Linked DNA regions of Homo sapiens: all the other regions are linked to region 3. The links are contacts of gene promoters, found by promoter capture Hi-C in blood cells and fetal thymus (Javierre and others, 2016). All regions are on one chromosome and are shown on one strand. Each heading gives the region's core, a stretch centred on a gene start or on the middle of the fragment in contact. The rest is flanking DNA. Distances are from core to core; before and after follow the strand shown.

Region 1 (2,953 bases), core at 356-2,855, 290 kb before region 3:
TCTGCAGGTTTATGGTACGCTCGAGAGAGATCTTTCTGACTTGGTCTACTTGGTCATAAAATACAAATATACAATGTCCATAAGCATAAGACAGTAAAGCCTAGTCTTACATATTTATTATGAATTGCTAGAATCCTATACAAGTACAATATCATCTCATGCCAAGTAATATACACAAGAAGGTGGCAAAATGTCTCACCGTGAATCAGGGCGTGTGAACAAGGGATGGGGGATGCAAGCCAGGTGGGTGTGAAGAGGCTGACCGCATCTGGTTAGGCAGGACGGTGTCACTGAAACTTGGAAACGCCTGTGTACCCTGCTGAAATATTGAAGTCAGTTAGGAGTAGAGTCTGCTTAGCACAAGAGGGATACAAGCCCTCTCTCACAGCCTCCCCAAGGGAGAATGCAATGAAACTTTGGAAAATGTAACCAAACACAGTCTCATCTTTGTGTCTCCTGATTCAGCTGTGCAAATCAGTTATTCACTCTTCTGAAGTGATCTGTCCTTTTAGGACCAATTCCTCAACAGCCATCGTGGTTCAGTACCTCATTATCATCATAAATATTTGACTTAGCAAGCTAGATGGTGAAACAGTGAAGATTATATACAATGTTTTAAAAGGCATTCTGTGACCATTTTTGAAGAGTTCATAGAAAAGTTACTAAGAATATACCAGTTACTTCTGTTGATGTGGCTATAATGTAAACGTTGCAACCTTGTTGGTATTCAATGTGCACTGTGTCATATATTGTACAACAAAAGTGAACACGGAACCGCTGATCCGCTGTGGCGCCCGCTGACACGCTAAGCTAAGGTAGCCGGCGGAGGGCACAGTTTTCCTGAGGTTTGTAAGAATTTTTTAAACAAAACAGAAATCACAGTGACCAAGGGTAATGCGAGTCTGTGTCTTCCTTGCCCATGCTGCTCCCCACAGCTCTCGGTGGGTACTAAATGACGCGCCACTGCATGATGCTTGTGTCTTTCCCGCCCGTGGAGATGAGGTGGCTGTCTTCACAGAGGAAATCGACATTGGTGACATGGCTGCTGTGCCCGCCGTAGATGTGGCTTGGAGCCTGGAGGGAATGATACGGGGGAAAGCTTCCTTTACTACAAGGCGAACCATCTGGGATGGGAAAGTGCTTGAATTCTCACTGCATGCCTTAATTCCTTTACTCGCCCTCCGCTCGGCAGCTCTCACTTGGGAACCTGCTCTGTGTGTGACACAGAAGGGACACAGAAACAAAGCCCACAGTCCTCGTGGCCTGGTAGGGGACAGACACGAGCAAATGACCGCCCTCAGCCGAGAGATATGCTCAGTATCAGAGGTGCCAGGTATGAGGTCGCCCCAAAGGTGGGCCTAACCAGATGCCCGGGGCTGAGGGTGAGGGGTCTCCAGGGTCAGGATCACGGAGGATGAAGAAGGGCGTCCCAGGGCTCAGGGCTGGCGCGGCTGAGCAGGGCCGGAGCAAGGGAGCCGTGGGGGAGGGCGGGGTCGTGAGCCTGTGGGGCTGCAGAGGTGGATGAGCAGCTCTGAACGGCTTTGTGGGTCCTGTGGGGCTTGGGGTTTCCCTAAGGGCGGCTGGAAGTGCTCAGGGCGCAAAGAACAGAGTCACATCTGCCTTTGTGGCTGGCAGCAGTCGCTCACAGCCCATTTCCACTTAGTCTCCAAACAGGTCGGGTGTACGTGCATGCCCCATGGGGGATAAGATTAGTGAAGAAACAAGTCCTTTACCCTGAACTGCGAGCAGGGGTATGAGAAGAGGTGCACTTTGCCAAAGTCGTCGCCTGTTGACAGGAGTTTCTTCTCATGGGCCCGACAGACGGCATTGATGTCGGTTCCGTCCGAGCCTTCTGGCCACACTCCTAAAACAAAGACCACAAACAGGGCGCTGGAAACACCAGGGGCCACAGGGCCACATGGCGCAGGAAGCGCCCACTGAACGGTCCTGAACATGAAACTGCCTGAAGTCCAGCTTTAGAAACAAGGGTCAAAAAAGCACAATAGCCTCAGTTCCTGGCCTCTCGCTGTGCGCCCAGTCTCCTCTCACTCAGGCCAGTCTCGGAGACCCTCTGATGCTCTGCTGTGCAAGGGGAGCAAAGACAAGCTTTCCGGGCTGCCAGGTCTTTTGAGGCCTCATCTTGAGGCCAAGGCAGACAGTACCAGGAACCCCAGTTCCAAAGTGACACCTCTCCTTGATCTCTGAAGCATCTTGTGGGAAGCTGCCCTGTCCTCAAGCCTGCAGTTTCCTTGTTATTGCTGTAACTCTACATGGGTGGGTCTCTCCAAAGGCCTTTTAACCCTGGGTGTGCGCATGTTTCTTGGGGTCACTCACTGTGGCTGTTGCTTGCTTGGGGCAGCCTGGCAGCTGTGCCCATCATTACTGGCTCCAGGCTCTGCATCCCTGAGCCCAGGTGGGCCTGGAGAATGGGTGGGTGGGGGACACCCTCTTCTGACCATTGTCGGGTGAGCCCAGGTGGGCCTGGAGAATGGGTGGGTGGGGGACGCCCTCTTCTGACCATTGTCGGGGAAACCCTTTCAACAATACCTGTGGCTAGGAGAGGGCTGGATGCACGTTGGGTTTTCGACTGGGAGCTCTGGAGTGAACCTCCGGACCTCAGCACTGAACACCACAAAACTGCAAATTCTCACAAGACTTGTAGTCTTACGTAAAGAGACAATAAACACTATCTTTAAAAATTCTATTAATTTGCAGCCCTTTAATTTAGTTCACTTATGAAAATATTCCTAAAGTGAATGTTGAAGAAAGTGAAATTTTTAGTTTAAGAACAAAAAATATATAAATAATAACCCTCACAAATGGTAAGTTGACTGAGTGCCATCTGGTCCACCTAGGTCCATGTGGCACAACCTGATAGGAGAGGGTTCCAGGGAATTATCTTAGGACCTGCTGCCCTGTACAGTGGAGAAGGGTTAAAAACCCATCTCTCTGG
Region 2 (2,975 bases), core at 234-2,733, 270 kb before region 3:
AAAGGGTTGGGATTACAAGTGTGAGCCACTGTGACCAGGAGTAGAAAAAGCATTTTTAAATGCTCAGCACTTTGAAATGTTTTCTTGCTTCATTCCAAAATCAAGGCTTCTCCCACAGCCTCAAGATCAGGGCTTGAGAAGCTCCACAAATCCTCGAGATTGTAGGCAAAATGTGTGTGTGGCTGGGTGTGGTGCCTCATGCCTGTGATCTCAGCACTTTGGGAGACCGAGGTGGGAGGACTGCTTGAGCTAGAGCTCAAGACCAGCCTGGGCAACACAGTGAGACCTGCGTCTCTACAAAAGATAAAATATTAGTTGAGCATGGCAGTGCATGCCTGTAGTCCCAGCTACTTGGGAGGCTGAGGTGGGAGGATCACTTAAGCCCTGGAGGCTGCAGTAAGCTGTGATTGTGCCACTGCACTTCAGTCTGGGTGACAAGGAGAGACCTGTCTCAAAAAACAAACAAAAAAAGTGTGTGTGTGTCTAGTGGAGGTAGAGGGTCCTTTTCCAGGAGAGAGGGTCTATGGCTTTCCTCAGATTCCCCAAGGCTCAAAATGTAATGGGCCACTGTTTCAAGTTTCGCTTTTAACTTAATTCTTGGTAAGTCATTAGAAGCTTCGAACATGTAGCCAAGAGCTGAACGGGGGCCTGTTCCTGGGGAAATAGAAACAACAGGCCTCTTTTCCATAAGCTTTGCAAGCACAAGCGCTGTTGGCATGGACTTACCTCCCAGTGAGTGTTCCGACTGCAACCACAGACCCTGAAGGATGAAAACCAGAAGACTGAGCTGGATCCTAAAATATTTTAAAGGAAGTGTAAATTGATGAACAGATAGAACACTATAGCATAAAACACACACACGTGAGTGCGTGCACACACAAACGCTCACACTTCTAATTCCTTAGGGCTATATGGCTCTATTTGAAAAGTCTCTTTTCTAGAGAAAAATGTTTTCCTGCTTGAATGAATGCTGCGTTTCAATAATGCTAAATTTCTACCTACCCCCACCCTTTTTTGAGGCAGGATCTCACTCTATTGCACAGGCTGGAGTACAATGGCATGATCATGACTTATTGCAGCACAAGTGACACTCCTGGCTCAGCCTCTGAAGCAGCTGGGACTACAGGTGTGTGTCACCACACCTGGCTAATTTTTTAATTTTTAATTTTGTAGAGATGGAGTCTCCCTATGCTGCCCAGGCTGGTCTCGAATTCCTGGGCTCAAGTGATCCTCCTGTCTCTGCCTCCCAAAGTGCTGGGATTATAGGTGTAAGCCATTGAGCCTGACTTAAATTTCTGTCCTTTTAGGATTTTTCCCTTTTTGTCTTACATCCTCTCATTTCTACAGTAATCTGATGAAAGACAGGTAAATGCCCTTCTACAAAGTCACAGCTTATAGAACCCAGCCCCTTCAGTTGACTCCCCGTGCTGAGTGGTAAGCTCACTGAATAGTGTGCTTGATTGCTCCAGAAAGACAACCACGGCACCCAACTCCATGACACGGAGACTGGGTGAGTGCCCACTGGGTGCAAAACACTATGGAGGCCTGGAAGGATCATGAGATGAGCAAGGCATGTTCTAGGTTTTGATCCAGTGGAACACACACACAGTCATCACTAACTCGGATACAAGATGGAATGATCCATGAAAGAGATCCATGAAAGAGATACACAGGGGAGGGAGGGATGAGGTGACACTGGGAAGCTGGGCCAAGGCTTCGCGGTACAGACGACTGGACTTGGGCCTCCCAGGAGAGGAAGAATTATCACTGGTGAAGGTGAGATGTGGCCACTCCAGTCGTTTTTTGGACCATGGTGAAGGGGGCAGTAATATAGTAAAAGTGATGGAAGCAACACAGCTGTGGGCATATTTGAGGAGTGGCAGATAGGTCAATGGGCTTACAGCACAGAGTATATCACATTAGTGATGTCACTGCCATGGTAAGGACTTTGATCACTAGGAAATAAGAACACTTTGAATGGTCTTGTCCTTTCAATAAAAAGAGTGACATGATTGAACATGTGTTTTAGATAAAGGGCACTTTGCAGGAGTGTTTAGGATGAAGAGAGAAGAGATTAAGGAAGATCAGGAAGAAAAGTAGCAATGGGAATGAAAATAGGAGGCCCTGAGATCCACTGGATAATCTAAAAAACCAAGAGAAAGAAACTTGATATATGATTACATTATTTCAATGCTTTCTTTCTACAGTGGGAGCTGTAATTAAGCTCAGAGCTGCCACTAATACACAAACAGAAATCGTGTTCACTTGAAGCTTTACCATTTACAAAGCACTTCTGTCTGTGTCATTCATCTAAGCCTCGTAACAATTTTGAGAAGTGGACACTGAGTTACAGATGTCCAAGGTCACAAGGCCAGTAGGCAGAGGAGCTAGAACTTCATTGCAGTTCCCTGGCTTCCAGCTTAGAGCTCCAACCCTTATGTTAGGCTAAATGATTAACAGCCTGGTAAAGGAGCTGTCATTGCCTTCAGCCCTCCTGGACCACCAGGGCATAGGTAGAACATATAACACTGTTCCCTTTAGCCCTTTCCTGCCATCACGGGCCACACCTGCTCTCTGAGTGGCAGTGCCTGCCCCTTGGGCCCTTCCACCTCACGGCTCAGCTGGCCACCAGTGACCAGCACCCCTTCCGTGAAAATGAAGGGAAGGGAGCCAAAACTTGAACCTAGCACCTGGGACATGCCAGTAACTCTATGGGGGATGAAAGGATGATGTGTTGGTTTACAGAAGGGCTATTTCCTCTGTGCAATGGGATTGCACAGATCATTAGGGCACCGGCAACAGAGAATGAGCTTCCGATTCGCTGCAGTGCAATGCAGTGGAAAGAACCAGAGTTTAGGAGTCAGACTGAGCTGGGTTCTAACACTAGCTAGGTCACTCACTAACTTAGTGACCTTGGCAAGTTATTTAACTTCTCTACACCTCAATTTCCTATTCAATAAAATCAGAGTTAAAAA
Region 3 (2,700 bases), core at 191-2,690:
TCCTGACCTCAAGTGATCTGCCCACCTTGGCCTCCCAAAGTGCTGGGATTACAGGCATAAGCCACCATACTCAGCTTCATTTTAAAGATATTGTGAGGTGCAGCAGTGACCTGCCCAGGTCACGAAGCTGGGGAAGTGACAGAGCCAGGATCAAACTCCAACTCCAAGTCAGCCTTCTTGCCCTTCCCCACACCACCTGCCCCTGCTGGCCGAAGGCTGGGACACGGCCCTGGCCCCTGGGGCCTCTCCACCCCAGGCCTCTCACTGCCCAGATGCTGAGGCAGGAATGCCTTGGGGCTGCCCGTCCTGCTCCATTTCTGCATTCAGCCAGGCAACATTTGCCCACTTGGGTGTGGTCAGGCCCTGGGGCCTCAGACTCCCACAAGAGGAAAACAAATAGCGGTGGCACCACCAGGTGTGCACAGAAGCAGGGGCTCCACCCTCAGAGGGAAGATGGGGGGCCCAGGGGCTTCAACAAAGAGCTGTCGCTCAGTCTTGAGAGAGCTTCTGCAGGCCAGGGCGCCATCCCCAGGAGAGGGCACAGCACCCACAGAGGTGGTGGCGGAAGTGGCAAGGGCATCAGGATGGGGGTGAGACGCTCGTGGGGGACAGTGGCCCCAACCCCCTCAACAAACCCGGGCCACACGTTGACCACGCCCACGCCAGGGCCCCCTGCTTTCACTGCCCCGGGGACAACACAAAGGAGCACTGACCGGGACAGATGCCTCTCCACCTTGGTACCCCGACAAGGGTGCAGCTGCTCGGGGTGGGACGCTGAGGGGTCGACTCCAGGGGACTGGGGCAGAAGAGCCCCCAACCTCTGAGGAAATGATGACATCATCTGTCCGTCCGTCCGTCCTTCCTGCTTCAGGAGGGGAAACTGAGGCCCCGAGAAGGCCCAAGTCACAAAACTAATGAATGGCAAAGCCAAGAGTCGTCCTGGGATGCGCGGTCTCCCCGCCCCGTGCCAAATGACTCCCTGTTGGGGCTTAGAGTTCCCGAGTCCGCCGCCCACTCTTGGCCCTCGCCCCCGCGGGGTTCCGATCTCTGCTCCAGGACTCGGCCTCCCGCGCCCCGCCCCGCCCGGTGGCCGCGCGCCCGCTCACCTGGCACAGCAGGTCCCTCGCGTAGCCGGCGCACGCGGCCCACTCGGCGGCGTCCACGCGGCTCGCCAGGGCCCAGAAGCGGCGGGTCAGCTCGGCGTCGCGCCCCTCATCGCAGCAGCCGAAGTCCGAGTACTGCGCGCAGAGGCGCAGCGGCTGCGTCGGCCGGAAGGGCGGCCTGAAGTCCAGGCACTGCGGATGCGCGGCGGCCCCGAGCACCCAAAGCGCCAGCAGCGCCCCGGCCCTGGCCCGGGCCATCGCTACGCCCCGCGGGGGAAGAGGCGGAGGGACGGCAGCCCCGGTCCCCTCCCGGGGCGCTCGCGGCGGCAGGGAAGGGGCGGGCGCTCCCCTTCCCTACACGCAGGGCCTCGAGTTTGGGGACCTCCCCTTCTAGGAGGTCACCTCTGGTCGGGGACACTCGGCGGGACTGAAGGAAGAGGGACGCGGCGCAGAATGCGGCACGACCTCTTTTAACCGCTTTCCAAATTCGATGGGAGTGGCCCGGTCTGTTTAAAGCCCCGGTGTGTTTTCCCGGTTCCGCCTGGGGCCCTGCTTCCTCCCCACAGGGCGCTCTTTAGCCAGGGAGGCGCAGGGCCAGAGGCCTGGACTCCTGGGCTTCGGTTCCACCTCCCACTGGGCTAGGGAAACGGATGCCCGCAGCCCGTCCCCGAAAGCTCCCACGTAACATTTTAAAAATGGGGGTGCGAGGGAAAGAACAGGGGGTGTTGCCCCAGGACTCTCAGGGAGAAGTGAAACCTGGCGTAGGGGTGGGGAGGGAGGACGGAGCAGTCTCCGCAGTCCACCCTTTGCCCTTACTGTGGGCTTCTTCCCAGTCTCTGCTCCTGGGGCAGCGGATTCTCCTGCAGCCCAGGACCCACTGGGGCTCCCCACTTCCACTCTCGCATAGGGAGCACTGATGAATCTACCTCCTGGGATGGGCATCCAGCCCTTTGTTCCGCTGCCCCCGCTGGAGATTCAGACCCAACCCCGCCCCACCCCCCCACACACATACAGACGCACACACGCTGTCTTACCTACCCCAGAATCTCATGGCACCAAAACCACCCACACAGACAAACACACACACACTGTCTCACCTACCCTAGAATCTCACAGCACCAAAACCACCCAGGCATTTTTCTCAAGTGGACCTCAGCGTTTGCTTCTCCCTGGAGTGTCCTTCCCCATCTTCTCTGTCCAGTGAGCTCCTACTCCATCTTCATGGCCCCAACGCACACATCCGTCCTCTGCAGGTCTCTTTGGACTGTCCTGGGGGATCATGTTTCTGTCTTTGGGCCCATGCTCCTGGCAGAGCTGGGGGTGGATGAGATGCGGCAGGGCTGGAGCACTCAGAGGTCTGTGGCTCTGGCCTGAACAGGTGCAGTGTAAGAGTCAGGGTCTCCGCACAGCCAAACATCTCTGAGTATTTGAAACACGGGGAATTTAACGCAGGGACTTGAAGCCAAAGAGGCTAAGAAGCCATACAGGGCTCAGTGAAGTAACCTTGAGATCAGCAACAGTAGGAACAGTCCCCAGGTCCTTGATGCAGGAAGAGCAGATGTTACTGGAGCCAAGGAGCTATGGTCACCTTGTCAAA

Evidence for each region. The method cuts DNA at HindIII sites, captures the fragments that hold promoters and counts their contacts. A CHiCAGO score of 5 or more calls a contact.
Region 1: a fragment that was not itself captured here is called in contact with the fragment with the promoter of HHIPL1 in region 3 in 2 of 17 cell types (endothelial precursors and erythroblasts); the score reaches 6.0 in endothelial precursors.
Region 2: a contact is called between a fragment that was not itself captured here and the fragment with the promoter of HHIPL1 in region 3, in 1 of 17 cell types (endothelial precursors). The highest score is 8.5, in endothelial precursors.

The regions. Positions count from the first base shown.
Region 1 is chr14:99,938,108-99,941,060 of GRCh38, reverse strand. EML1 (EMAP like 1) reads right to left here. Exons shown (of 22, transcript NM_004434.3): 21 at 1,734-1,864; 22 at 1-1,074. The coding sequence ends at 949. Among named protein-coding and RNA genes, the nearest start is that of EVL, 130 kb to the left of the region's middle. RefSeq lists an enhancer at 804-2,003. The HindIII fragment of the contact is 1,007 bases long and covers 1,102-2,108 here.
Region 2 is chr14:99,915,601-99,918,575 of GRCh38, reverse strand. EML1 (EMAP like 1) reads right to left here. Exons shown (of 22, transcript NM_004434.3): 16 at 727-794. Among named protein-coding and RNA genes, the nearest start is that of EML1, 120 kb to the right of the region's middle. The HindIII fragment of the contact is 1,580 bases long and covers 694-2,273 here.
Region 3 is chr14:99,643,869-99,646,568 of GRCh38, reverse strand. It overlaps HHIPL1 (HHIP like 1), which reads right to left and starts at 1,440. Exons shown (of 9, transcript NM_001127258.3): 1 at 1,107-1,440. The coding sequence starts at 1,361. The HindIII fragment of the contact is 13,444 bases long and covers 1-2,700 here.